Regions from separate parts of the Homo sapiens genome. Here region 2 is linked to region 1. The links are contacts of gene promoters, found by promoter capture Hi-C in blood cells and fetal thymus (Javierre and others, 2016). All regions are on one chromosome and are shown on one strand. Each heading gives the region's core, a stretch centred on a gene start or on the middle of the fragment in contact. The rest is flanking DNA. Distances are from core to core; before and after follow the strand shown. Region 1 holds the start of APOL6 (apolipoprotein L6). Region 2 overlaps RBFOX2 (RNA binding fox-1 homolog 2).

What was found. The method cuts DNA at HindIII sites, captures the fragments that hold promoters and counts their contacts. A CHiCAGO score of 5 or more calls a contact.
Region 2: a contact is called between a fragment that was not itself captured here and the fragment with the promoter of APOL6 in region 1, in 5 of 17 cell types (M0 macrophages, M2 macrophages, M1 macrophages and 2 more). The highest score is 11.7, in M0 macrophages.

The regions. Positions count from the first base shown.
Region 1 is chr22:35,646,997-35,653,982 of GRCh38, reverse strand. APOL6 (apolipoprotein L6) reads right to left here and starts at 5,537. Exons shown (of 3, transcript NM_030641.4): 1 at 5,360-5,537. RefSeq lists an enhancer at 5,533-5,832. The HindIII fragment of the contact is 8,876 bases long and covers 4,402-6,986 here.
Region 2 is chr22:35,902,409-35,909,426 of GRCh38, reverse strand. The region is part of intron 2 of RBFOX2 (RNA binding fox-1 homolog 2); the gene reads left to right. Among named protein-coding and RNA genes, the nearest start is that of RBFOX2, 120 kb to the left of the region's middle. The HindIII fragment of the contact is 3,221 bases long and covers 1,451-4,671 here.

The sequences.
Region 1 (6,986 bases), core at 4,288-6,787:
TAGCAAATTATTGAAACTGAGGAGGGAGTTGTGGAAACCTTCCATGTGTCACCAAGTTGGACAAAAGTTGTGGGCAACCTGGGGACCCACCACTTACAACTGGTGTCTGAAGTAGGGGCAGTCTTATGGGACTGAGCCCTTAACCTGGGGGATCTGATAGTATCTCCAAGGAGATAGTGTCAGAATTGAGTTAAACTGTAGGATGCCAAGTTTGTTCTCATAAAGAAGTGGAGAATTGCTTGGTGTAGGGAAAAAAACTCACATATTTTGGTGACCAGAAGAAGGTAAATTGGTGTGAGTATTGAGGGTAGTAGTAGAGTTCAGCCTCCTTCCTTCACCTCTCTCGCACACGCCCTCTTGCCCTTCTGCCTTCTGCCTTCTGTCATGGGATAACACAGCAAGAAGGTCCTTGCCACGTATCTCAAAATAATAAGAGCTATCTATGACAAACCCACAGCCAATATCATACTGAATGGGCAAAAACTGGAAGCATTCCCTTTGAAAACTGGCACAAGACAGGGATGCCCTCTCTCACCACTCCTATTCAACATAGCGTTGGAAGTTCTTGCCAGGGCAATCAGGCAGGAGAAAGAAATAAAGGGCATTCAATTAGGAAAAGAGGAAGTCAAATTGTCCCTGTTTGCAGATGACATGATTGTATATCTAGAAAACCCCATTGTCTCAGCCCAAAATCTCCTTAAGCTGATAGGCAACTTCAGCAAAGTCTCGGGATACAAAATCAATGTGCAAAAATCACAAGCATTCTTACACACCAATAACAGACAAACAGAGAGCCAAATCATGAGTGAACTCCCATTCACAATTGCTTCAAAGAGAATAAAATACCTAGGAATCCAACTTACAAGGGATGTGAAGGACTTCTTCAAGGAGAACTACAAACCACTGCTCAATGAAACAAAAGAGGATACAAACAAATGGAAGAACATTCCATGCTCATGGGTAGGAAGAATCAATATCATGAAAATGGCCATACTGCCCAAGGTAATTTATAGATTCAATGCCATCCCCATCAAGCTACCAATGACTTTCTTCACAGAATTGGAAAAAACTACTTTAAAGTTCATATGGAACCAAAAAAGAGCCCACATTGCCAAGTCAATCCTAAGCCAAAAGAACAAAGCTGGAGACATCACGCTACCTGACTTCAAACTATACTACAAGGCTACAGTAACCAAAACAGCATGGTACTGGTACCAAAACAGAGATATAGACCAATGGAACAGAACAGAGCCCTCAGAAATAATGCCGCATATCTACAACTATCTGATCTTTGACAAACCTGACAAAAACAAGAAATGGGGAAATGATTCCCTGTTTAATAAATGGTGCTGGGAAAACTGGCTAGCCACACGCAGAAAGCTGAAACTGGATCCCTTCCTTACACCTTATACAAAAATTAATTCAAGATGGATTAAAGACTTAAATGTTAGACCTAAAACCATAAAAACCCTAGAAGAAAACCTAGGCAATATCATTCAGGACATAGGCATGGGCAAGGACTTCATGTCTAAAACACCAAAAGCAACGGCAACAAAAGCCAAAATTGACAAAGGGATCTCATTAAACTAAAGAGTTTCTGCACAGCAAAAGAAACTACCATCAGAGCGAACAGGCAACCTACAGAATGGGAGAAAATTTTTGCAATCTACTCATCTGACAAAGGGCTAATATCCAGAATCTACATGAACTCAAACAAATTTACAAGAAAAAAACAAACAACTCCATCAAAAAGTGGGCGAAGGATATGAACAGACACTTCTCAAAACAAGACATTTATGCAGCCAAAAGACACATGAAAAAATGCTCATCATCACTGGCCATCAGAGAAATGCAAATCAAAACCACAATGAGATACCATCTCACACCAGTTAGAATGGCGATCATTAAAAAGTCAGCAAACAACAGGTGCTGGAGAGGATGTGGAGAAATAGGAACACTTTTACACTGTTGGTTGGACTGTAAACTAGCTCAACCATTGTGGAAGTCAGTGTGGCGATTCCTCAGGGATCTAGAACTAGAAATACCATTTGACCCAGCCATCCCATTACTGGGTATATACTCAAAGGATTATAAAACATGCTTCTATAAAAACACATGCACACATATGTTTATTGCGGCACTATTCACAATAGCAAAGACTTGGAACCAAGCCAAATGTCCAACAATGCTAGACTGGATTAAGAAAATGTGGCACATATACACCATGGAATACTATGCAGCCATAAAAAAGGATGAGTTCGTGTCCTTTGTAGGGACATGGATGAAGCTGGAAACCATCATTCTCAGCAAACTATCGCAAGGACAAAAAACCAAACACCGCATGTTCTCACTCCTAGGTGGGAATTGAACAATGAGAACACATGGACACAGGAAGGGGAACGTCACACACCGGGGCCTGTTGTGGGGTGGGGGGAGTGGGGAGGGATAGCATTAGGAGTTATACCTAATGTTAAATGATGAGTTAATGGGTGCAGCACACCAACATGGCACATGTATACATTTCTCCGGGTGAAATTATCCTGGATTCAGGGTGGCCCTGAAATCCATCACTGATGTCATTATAAGAAGAGGAGGTGACAGAGAGAGACACAGCAAAGAAGGCTGCACGCAGACAGAGGCAGAAATTAGAGTCGTGCTGTCAGAAGCCACCGAGGCTGCAAAAGGCACAGATGGTCTCCCTGGAGCCTGCAGCAGAAGTGCGCCCTACTGGCACTGGGATTTTTGACTTCCAGCCTCCAGAACTGTGAGACACTAAATGTCTGTTGTTTGAAGCCACCTGGTTTGTGGTGCTTTCTGACAGCAGCCCTAGGGAAGCCAATACATTCCTTTGCATCTCTTCTCTACATTTGGTACTTGGTCCAGCGCTTACGGCAGAAATGCTGTTTCCTAGATATAGCTTCTCCCTCAGCTCATCCTCCCTTCTCTCATCCTCTTCCCTTCCACTTCTAAAAAGTTAGAAAAAAACATCCTCCCTCACACACTCTGAAGGGACACAAATTCTTTATTTTTAAAAAAATTTTTTTTTTTTTTTGAGACTGAATTTTGCTCTTGTTGCCCGGGCTGGAGTACAATGGCATGATCTTGGCTCACTGCAACCTCCACCTCCCAGATTCAAGCGATTCTCCTGCTTCAGCCTACCAAGTAGCTGGGATTACAGGCACGTACTAACACACCCGGCTAATTTTTGTATTTTTAGTAGAGATGGGGTTTCACAAGGTTGGCCAGGCTGGTCTTGAACTCCTGACCTCAGGTGATCCACCCACCTCGGGCTCCCAAAGTGCTGGGATTACAGGCATGAGCCACCATGCCCAGCCCAGGACACAAATTTTTATAGCCATTCATTTATAGCCATTCATTCATTCATTCACTTATAGCCATGAATACAAGTTTAAGGTTGAAAATTTAGAAATAAATTATAAAATCCACCTTACGCTCACCATATGGAAATGCATGCTGTTCATGTAGTTTGTGTGAATTCTTGTCACCTAACATTGTATCTTAGTAGTTCCCCAGGCGATACATAGAAGCCATGTCGCATTTCATTTTACGAATGTATCATTACACATTCAATAACTCTCTCACTGTTGAACCTTTGGGTTGTTTTCAGTTATTTTAAAATTTTGTATTTATAATTTTTGGTTAAAATCCTTATATAGACGTCTGTCTACATGTTTGGTTATTTCTTTGGGGTAGTCTATGAAAAAGAATGAATGCTTCAAAGATAAAAACCTTCTCCCCTCTTTGGTATGTGAAGCTAGGTTTGGTTTAGGGGGCTTGGCACCTTTAAGAGTTTACTTTCACCAGACATACATCTACCTGCTTTACACAGTGACCCAGTGAGATCGGTGCTAAGATGATGCCCATTTTACAGAGGTGCAAACTGAGACATAGGGAGGCCAGTGTCACACAGTAAGCAGGAAAGCCTGTGCAATTCCAGCCACGCAGAGTCTGGAGTAGTTGGTCCCAAACAGGGCGTGTTTGCTCCTCAGGGACACTGCTAATATCTGGAAACATTTTTGATGGTCTCAGCTGGAGAGGGTACTGCTGTTGGTATGTAGAGGGCAGAGGCCAGGGATGCTGCCAAGCACCCTACGATGCAGAGGACAGCCCCCACAACCAGGGATCACCTGGTTGAACATGACAAGGTTGCTGGGGGTAAGAGACTCTGGTCTGGAACCCCATTTTTTACCAGCGTCCGCCAATACCTCTCTCATTTTTTTACATTAGTCCTATGGGATGCAGGGCAAAGGTAACAGCAGGAAACTCATCTAAGCAGGTCCCATTCCATCCCCTCTGACCTGCTCTTGGTGGTTGCGAGAGGATTTGCTTGTGAGAGGTTTATTGGAAGAGGATTTGAGAACTTACTTTCATTTGAAAGCTTACAGGATATTTATGACAGTCTTTCCTTACCTGCCTTCCCCCACAAAACCAACTTCTGCAGATACACAATCTAAGTAAGAAAAATCTGCTTACTTTGAAAACACAGCTTCAAGATAACCTCCCTAGATTTTTTTTTTTTTTTTTGAGACCGGGTCTCACTCTGTTGCCCAGGCTGGAGTGCAGTGGTGCGATCACTGCTCACTGCATTCTTGACTTCCTGGGTTCAAGTGATCCTTCCACCTCAGCACCCTCCCAAGTAGCTGGGACTACAGGTGTGCACCATCACGCCCAGCTATTTTTTGATTTTTTGTAGAGACGGGGTCTCACTATGTTGCCCATGCTGGTCTCAAACTCTTGGGCTCAAGCAATCCGCTTGCCTTAGCCTCCCAAAATGCTGGGATTACAGGCATGAGCCACTGCGCCTGGCCTAGTCGCCCTAATATTTATCACAAACTCCCTCACCCTCTTCCCCAAACAACTTCACATAAATCTACAATCTAGAAAACTCTGTAGGTTGGCTTTGCAGTTTCTAGACAACTCACCCAGCACCTTTTTTCTTGTGAGATGACACCCCTAAACCACTCCTCTACTGAATTTCTAGGGAAACGCCTGTGGCTGATGTAATCATCTGCTTTCTAAGGGCCAGGTCCCCTCTGCCTAAGCCCTCGGATCCCCAGCAGTGGAGGGACAAATGCAACTTGGCTAGTCACATCGCATGCTTTAGCATGTTTCAATTTAACCCTGAAATGGCTGTAAGGGAGGGAAACCTACCAGGATTAACACAGGAGAAGTTAATCCTCAGACTCTCCTCAAGCTCTGGCTGGCATTTGAACCCCGCTGCTTTCACAGCAGCTCTTTTCCCTGAGTCAGGTGCCTAAAGCCAACCCCTTGGGGGCTCTGTCCTTCAGGGACCAGAGCGGCAGCCCCCTCCTCCCCCGACTTCTGCCCGCCGTCTCACCTTCTCTCCACGGAGCTCTCCTTTGTGGCCTTGGGTCCCGAGGGAGAGGAAGATCCTGAACCTCTGTCCTTGCCTCTCCGAGGTCCCCTGGTCTGGCAGGGGGCTGTGAGTGTCTGGGCTGGAGAAAGACGGATAGGAAGAGTAGGGTGGCCTTTGAACAGGAATTGATTGCAAAACTGGTTTCGGTTAAGTGCTGCAGGAGAGAAAAAGCAAAGCTCTAGGGCTCTTCCAGGAAATCATGGGCTCCAGCTGTCACTTTCAGTTTCCTTTTTGCCAGTTTCTCTAATTGGATGAACAAGGAGGTGAAAGAGCAGAATCCAAGTCAGGAGGCCTGAGTCTCTCGTCTCTGTCCTGGCTGTGTTATAGGATGGACCTATATGGGGTATGAAAATAGCTCCTGTGGCTTAGAGCTATGGTGAGGAGCCCATGAGCAAGCGATGGGGCGCCTGTTGAATAGTGGATTCACAGTAGCTGTCATCACTGATTGTTCTGAAACTGCTTTCCTCCACAGCATCTTACGTGACGCTGATGTGGGTAACAACCCTATGAGGTGCACAGCATTAAAGGGCTAATAACTCTGAATGCAGAATCCTCTGAAAATGGAAACTTTATTTTATTATTATTATTATTATTGTTTTTTGAGATGAAGTCTCGCTCTGTTGCCCAGGCTGGAGTGCAATGGCACGATCTCGGCTCACTGCAACCTCCGCCTCCTACGTTCAAGCTATTCCCCTGTCTCAGCCTCCCTAGTAGCTGAGATTACAGGCACCTGCCACCACGCCCGGCTGATTTTTGTATTTTTAGTAGAGATGGGGTTTTGCCATGTTGGCCAGGCTGGTCTCAAACTGCTGACCTCAAATGATCCATCCATCTAGGCCTCCCAAAGTGCTGGGATTACAGGCGTGAGCCACCGCACCTGGCCTCAGAATGAAAACTTAAAAAAAAATGATAATTTATTCATTTAGTGGCAAAACCTGACCTGATCTGGCATGAATTCACCTGTGGTTTTTATGTCTCCTGCTTAATTTGAATATTTACAGTCACTGCAGAAATATTAATATGTTTGACTGAGGAGGGCTGCTGCGGGTGCGTGGGTTACATAGTACACGATACCTGCACCCCATTACCTTTCTAAAAATCCCCCAAATCAGGAACTCTGACATGCATCTGGCCTCAAGGATTGGAGATATAGGATTGTGATACTCTGTCTCCCACTTTAAGGAAGAGGAAACCCAGGCTTCTAGAAGTTGTGGGTTGTTTGTGATTACACAGCTAAGAACCAGTCCTAGGCTCTGTGTCTACAAGAATGAGCCCACAGTGAGGTTACGGGCTGAGATCTGTGTCTCTCTAGCATTTGTGTCAAATTGTGATCAGAAGCCATGTGGTTTGTTTGTATTTATATGCCCAGAAGTCCCCAGTCACCACCCCTAGCTGAGACCACATTGGAGGCTGTTGCTTTGCAGAAGGTGCGGCCCACCTAGCCAGTCCTGGCTTTGCTGTGATAGAGGCCACCTCCTGTCCCTGGGCCCTACGAGCAGGAATGAGGGGTTAAGGGCTGCTGAGTTGGGTCTTGTAGGGGCCTTTCCAACCGTGGCATCCCGGATTCCACAACCCACCCCTGCTCCTG
Region 2 (7,018 bases), core at 1,812-4,311, 260 kb before region 1:
TACTTTAAGCCTTTTACTGCTGTTGTTCTTTTTCTCCCCTTACAACCTCTCAACTCCCTTCTTTCCACCCATACTTTAAAGAAGGAAACTGAAATTCCTGATGTAATGTATATTTTTTCATATATATATGTTTAAGAGACTGGGTTTTGCTATGTGGCTTAGGCTGGTCTCAAATTCCTGGCCCCAAGCGATCCTCTCACCTTGGCCTCTTGAGCAGCTGCAACAAGAAGCATGAGCCACTGCACCAAACCTGATAACAATGATTTTCTGAAAGATAGCGAGATGTGCTGGGCGCAGTGGCTCACTCCTGTAATTCCAGCACTTCGGGAGGCCGAGGTGGGCAGATCACGAGGTCAGGAGATCGAGACCATCCTGACTAACACAGTGAAACCCTGTCTATACTAAAAATACAAAAAATTAGCCAGGCGTGGTGGCGGGCGCCTGTAGTCCCAGCTACTTGGGAGGCTGAGGCAGGAGAATGGTGTGAACCTGGGAGGTGGAGGTTGCAGTGAGCTGAGATCATGCCACTGCACTCCAGCCTGGGTGACAGAGCGAGACTCCATCTCAAAAAAAAAAAAAAAATAGATGAGAAATTGGATGAAAGAGGCTTGGCAAGTTCACTGAATTCCTTGAGCCCCAAACCTAAGTTTCTGCCTATTTAATAGGTTTCATCTAGTATTTTTTATTTTGTGACTCATATTTACCAATTGGCTATTGTGGTGGTAATTGTAATGATAACAATAGTATATATTGCTCTGTTTACATAATAGCCTAACATACAGATGTTGAACCATCCACAACTTAGAATGGTTCTGCTTAACAGTTTTCTGACTTTACAATGGTACAAAAGCAATACACATTCAGTAGAAACCAATGTTCATTCAGTAGAAACCATCTGAGTACCCATTTTTTCACTTTTATTATAATATTCAGTAAATTACATGAGATATTCAACACTTTATTATAAAATAGGCATTGTGTTAAATGATTTTACCCAACTGTAACCTAATGTAAGTGTTCTGAGCATGTTTAAGATAGGCTAGGCTAAGCTATGATGTTTGGTAGGTTAGGTGTGTTAAATGCATTTTTGACTTACTATATTTTCAACTTATGATGAGTTTATAGGGACAAAATCCCATTGTAAGTTGAAGAACATTTGTTCTCTATTTGGGTTTGACAACATCCCTGTAATGTAGGCATTATTAACTCCATTTTGCAGGTGAAGAAACTGAGTGTATCCATATTTGACTGTTTCTCATTATACGAATTCAAGAATGGTTAAGTTAAAATTTTATTTCTATCATTTTGGTGTGGAATAGTTATGGATAGTAGATCAGAGTGATACACCAGTTGACTTCTTGGCCTAAACATTTGAAATAGACATTTCAAGATTCTTTGACAGTCTCTGTTTTGGTCATCAAATGTGCACACTGTTGATGTGCATAAAGCTTTCTGTTGTTTCAAGTGAAATTGAATTTTGGGTAGAGCACAGTGGCTCACACCTGTAATTCCAGCACTTTGGGAGGTCGAGGCAGGTAGATCTCTTAAGGTCAGAAGTTCGAGATCAGTCTGGCCGATGTGACAAAAACCCGTCTCCACTAAAAATACAAAAATTAGCTGGGCATGGTGGTGGGTACCTGTAATCCCAGCTACTTGGGAGGCTGAGCACAAGAATCTCTTGAATCCGGGAGGTGAAGGTTGCAGTGAGCTGGAGTCACGCCACTGCATTCCAGCCTGCGCGACGGAGCGACACTCTGTTTCAAAAAAAAAAATCGAGTTTTGATTTGTAAGTTAAAGTAAATAATTTATTATTGAAAACATTTAGGATTAAGTTCAGCTGCATATAACAATCTCCTCTTCCCCACACAGAATCTTAACAAGAGAGAGATTCATTTGTCTTTCATGAAAAAGAAGTCTGAAATTAGGCAGTCCAGGCTAATATGGCGCTGTCTGGTTACCAAGGATCTAAGATCCTTACTGCTGTTTACTTCTCTGACTGTAGGATGGGCCTAGATGATTCAGCCATCATTTCCCCCTTTCCACAAAGCAGTTTGAGAGGAAGAAAAGAGGGGTGTCCCCTCCCCTACCTAAGAAAACTTCCAGGAAGTTCCATGTAACATTTCTGCTTATATCTCATTAGTCGGAATTAGTCTTAGGGCCATATGTAGCTGTAGTGGAGGATGGAAGATGTAGTCCTTTTCTGGGGAAGCGTGTACAGTAATATGCTAAAATGAAAACTGGGGTTTTGTTACTAAGGAAGAAGAGAAGAGAGGATATTGGGAAGCCACTAACATTCTCAGCTCCAGGGCCTATCAGAGTGACCCAGCCTTATCTCCCACATGATACAGAAGACCATTCTGCGGCTTCCCTGGGAGATTTTCAACCAGTCTTTGCCATGTTTTCCAACAAGATGATTTTTTTCTTGAAATGTATATACTTTTATGCAAAGATTTTTTAAAAGCTAAATAATACAAGATTATGGTAAGGATCACTGCAGTTTCCATTTTAAGATCAAGTTTGAGTTTTTTTCCAAAATTGATTAGTTTGTTGGAAATGGAAATTCAAATGGTATAGAAAGTTTTTTGGTTTTTTGTTTGTTTGTTTGTTTGTTTGGGACAGAGTCTTGCTCTGTTGGCCAGGCTGGGATGCAGTGGCGTGATCTTGGCTCACTGCAGCCTCCACTTCCTGGGTTCAAGCAATTCTTGTGACTCAGCCACCCAAGTAGCTGGACTAACAGGTGTGTGCCACCACGCCCGGCTAATTTTTGTATTTTTAGTAGAGATGGGGTTTCACTCTGTTGGCCAGGCTGGCCTCCTGACCTGAAGAGATCTGCCTGCCTCAGCCCCAGAAAGTGCTGGGATTACAGACATGAGCCACTGTGCCAGGCCATAGAATGAGGTTTTAAGTAAGAATAAAGTATGTGTGAAATATTTAAATATCTGACCATTGGTAAAGGAAAAAGTGTGATTTTTTTTCTTTTGTTTTTTGAAGCCTGGGTAAGTCATTAGATTATACATTTCTTAGGGATAGAGAACTCACTTTTATAAAATGTATGATTATTGTATTTTGAATAAATAACATTTACATAAGTTAATATTTTAAAAGTAGAAAATGGTCATATCGTGAAAAGTTGCTCTCCCATTCCTGTCTTGAGTTCCCAGTGTCTTTCCCCTACAGGCACTGGGTGTTTTTTACTTCTTGTGTATAATTCCTCCTTTGATCTTTTCCTCCCATTTAAAAAACCACTGGTTTTAAAACCATTGCTAAACCTTTCTTTTTTCCACTTAATGACATATGCGGTATGCATGGCTTAATGATAAGGATACTTTTTGAGAAATGTGTCATTAGGTGACTTCATTGTGAAAACATCATAGAATGTACTTACACAAACCTAGATATATACCTGACTATATATTATATATGGTACAGCCTAATGCCTTTAGGCTGCAAACCAGTACAGCATGTTACTCTACTGATTACTGTAGGCAATTGTAACACAATGGCAAATATTTTCATATTTAAACATATCTAAGCATGGACAAGGCACAGTAAAAACATGGCATTATCATCTTACGGGACCACCATGACATATGTGTTCCATCATTGACTGAAACATTGCTATGCAGTGCATGACTCTATTAGAGTATTTCATAATGGTATTTTAAGAGCTTCCTCATCCCCCTCCCCCAAGGCTATACTGTTCAGTGTTTCACTGTATGGATAAGCCATAATTCATTAAACAGGAGAGTCATGTCTTACTTACATATCTATACCTGCTCTGTAAACGCATTCATTCATATTCAAGGGACTGAACTCTTGAATTTGTGCAGAATATTTCTCTTCTTCATGGCTGAGTATCCTAACCAGCTGAGAGGATTTTCCCTTCTTTAAAGACCAAGGTATTTAAGATTCAGTCATTTCAGAAATAAATCCTTCTAAATTGTGTTGTATAACTATAAAATTTATTTCTTCTTAACAGTAAAATAGTGGGCATTTTTAAATGGTTTTAACACAGGTATCAGCATCAGTATTGTTTAGGAATATAAAAGAGTAATATTTCAGGAGCTTTTGCTGGTTTTGCCTTACTAAGTGGCACCATTTTGACATATATCATCTATCTATTTTACCTGCTTTTTAGATTTTTTTTCTCTTCATCTTTCTTGTTTCCTATGTTGGCTGCCTCTAACATAATATTCCTTTTTCCTCTGGTACTTATTCCCCACTGCTTCCCAGTTCCTTTTCTTAATTTGCTTTGTAAATTTTTGGTGGACAATTAGCCAGATAACCAGGACAGAAATATTCCTAAAATAAAAATAAATAGATTCAGAGAGAAGGTCTGATGGAGTTTTCCTGCCGATGAAAATTTTGGAATGAATGTTTTGGAATTCTGGATACCTAGAGGGCCTTTTTGCTTCCTGGTTATTACCGTGTTCTAGGACAGCTCTGTCTAATAGACCTTTCTGTGATGATAGAAATGTTTTATGTCTGCCCTATCCATTATGATAGCCACTATCCTCACGTGGCTCTTGAGCACTTGACATGTGGCTAGTATTAAGTAACTGAAATTTTAATTTTAATTAAGTTAAATTCACATAACCACATATGACAGCTGGCTGCGTGTTAGACGACGTAGTTCTAGACTCTAGTTAACTAACTTATATACAGCAAGCTTGATTAGAGGAGAGCTTGAACTGGGATGCTATTATTGTGCTGAGAAGAATAAATTTATAGTTTTGGAAGGGAGACAATTTGGAATGTAGATTATCAGATTAGCTTAAAGTAAATGATTAAATTGGAACTGCCTTTTCATATTGACGTTATGATTATTTCACAGTGTAGCATTTTAAAGCCATTGTTACCAGCATTTATTTGTGGTTTGTATCTGTGGCAAAGCTGTGAGTCCTTTTGGTAACTAGGGTGAAATTAGTAGCACTCTAACTTTATTTATAGGACTTGGTTAGACAGTTGCCTGAGTGCCAGAAACTCCTGCAAATAACTTTGACCTTCCCTAACAAAAAGTCAAAGGATAAAGCGTTTCATAGTAGAAGATTTCAGTTGTATCTGACATACACAAAACATTACTTTCTAATGGAGAAATCTGTAACCAAAAAAAGCATAAATAATTAAAGATTTTGGTAACTGCTAGGAAGAACATAAACAGGGCACAGTAACAGAGAGTACGGGCTTGTGGGGAAAGACCTCCAACTAGATAGAGGAGTCTGGAGAGTTTTATTTGAGGAAGTGATATTTAAGCTGAGTTCTAAAAGATAAGAAGGAGCCTGGCTTGCAAAGAATGAAGGTGGAACGAGGAGGGATTTCAGAAAGAGGGAATTAAGGGGTATGGGGGAGAGGAATTGACACAAAATCAGTGTCTTTAGAATAGTGATTGAGAGGAGATATGGTATGAAGTGAGGTTGGAGAAGTGGGCACATAGCAGGTCATATAGGACCTTAAAGACCATCATAAGGAGTTTGGAAAGAAAAATGTAATGTGATGCCGTGGAAGTAGGAGAGTGATAAGATCTGGTGTTTGTTTTACAGAGTTTCTCTGGCTGCTGTGTGATGGTGTTTTGGAAGGGAGCAACAATGGAAATGGGGAAACTAGTGTGATATTCAGGAAAGAGATGATGGTGGCTTGGGTTAAGGTGGTTTAAGGCAGTGGAGGTCAAGTGAAGTCACACACACAGAAGTTGCTGTAGGTTGGATGTGAGGGATGAGGGGTGAAGGAAGGGTTTCTGGCTTTCATAATTGTCAGGTAGTACCAGGGGACTTCAAGGGTGGTGATGGTGGAGAATTAAGGACCCAATTTTGGGCATGTTGAGTTTGACATGCTTGTGTGACAGCTAAGTAGTCATATTGGAGCATGGGGAGAGGTCTCTGCTAGGGGTGTAACTTGGTAGTTATTAACATGTTGATGGTATTTGAAGTGATGGGAATGGATGAGACAACTTAGAGAAGATGACTCAGGATTGAACCCCAAGGAACACTTGCCTTTTAGAGGTCTGTCGAGGGAGAAGCCATAAAAAGATACTGAAACAGTAACCAGTGATGCATGAAAAAACAAAAAAAATGGCATTGTAGTATCTCAGAAGCCAGAAGAAGAGAATGTTTTAAGAAGATTGTCAGCTTTGTTGAATCCTGCTAAGAGGTCAGATAAATGTGGAAGTAGTAGACCTTGATAAGTTGATTTAATGGAGTGGAGGGCTTGGAAACTTTGTTTTGAGTAGATTGAAGAAAATGAGAAGTGAAGAAATTGAGACAGATATAGACAACAACTTTTTCAAGATAATTTACCCTGAAGTGGTGAGCAGGGAAATAGCAGGTAGCTGGAGGGAGATGAGGGGTCAAAGGAGAACTTTAAAAAAATTAGGGTTCATTTAATCATTTACTTATTATAGAACATTAGATTTAGTGGTAAGAAGATACTGTCTGAATGCTTCTCATTTAAAATGACATAGAAAATTAGCTAAGAGGTTGTGTGTAGTGGCTCATGGCTGTAATCCCTGCATTTTGGGAGGCTGGGGCAGGAAGATTGCTTGAACCCAGGAATTCAAGACTAGTCTGGGCAACATAGTGAGACCCGCCCCTTCTCTAAATTTTTTTTTTTTTTTTTTAATTAGCTGGGCGTGGTGGCATGTGCATGTAGTTCCAGCCACTTGGGAGGCTGAGGTGGGAGAATAGTTTGAGCCCGGGAGGTCAAGGCTGCAGTGAGCCATGATCGCACCACTGCACTCCAGCCTGGGCGACAGAGTGAGATCCTGTCTCAAAACAAACAGACAAAAAGTAAAATAAGAAAATTAGCTGAGAGTAGGTAGTGAAGAGTGAATGAGGGAGGTTTGAGGAGAAGCAAGAAATAGTCATTTTGGGGAGTAGGAAAGCTTTCAAGGGCAGCTTTGGTGGATTGCTTGGCATCGTTGAGTGTCCATTTGAGGTTTGTGATCATGAATATATAGTGAAGTCAGTCAGCTTGGTTATGTGATTTTTCTTCAGCAACATTCAGCTGATTGGGCATAGGCACT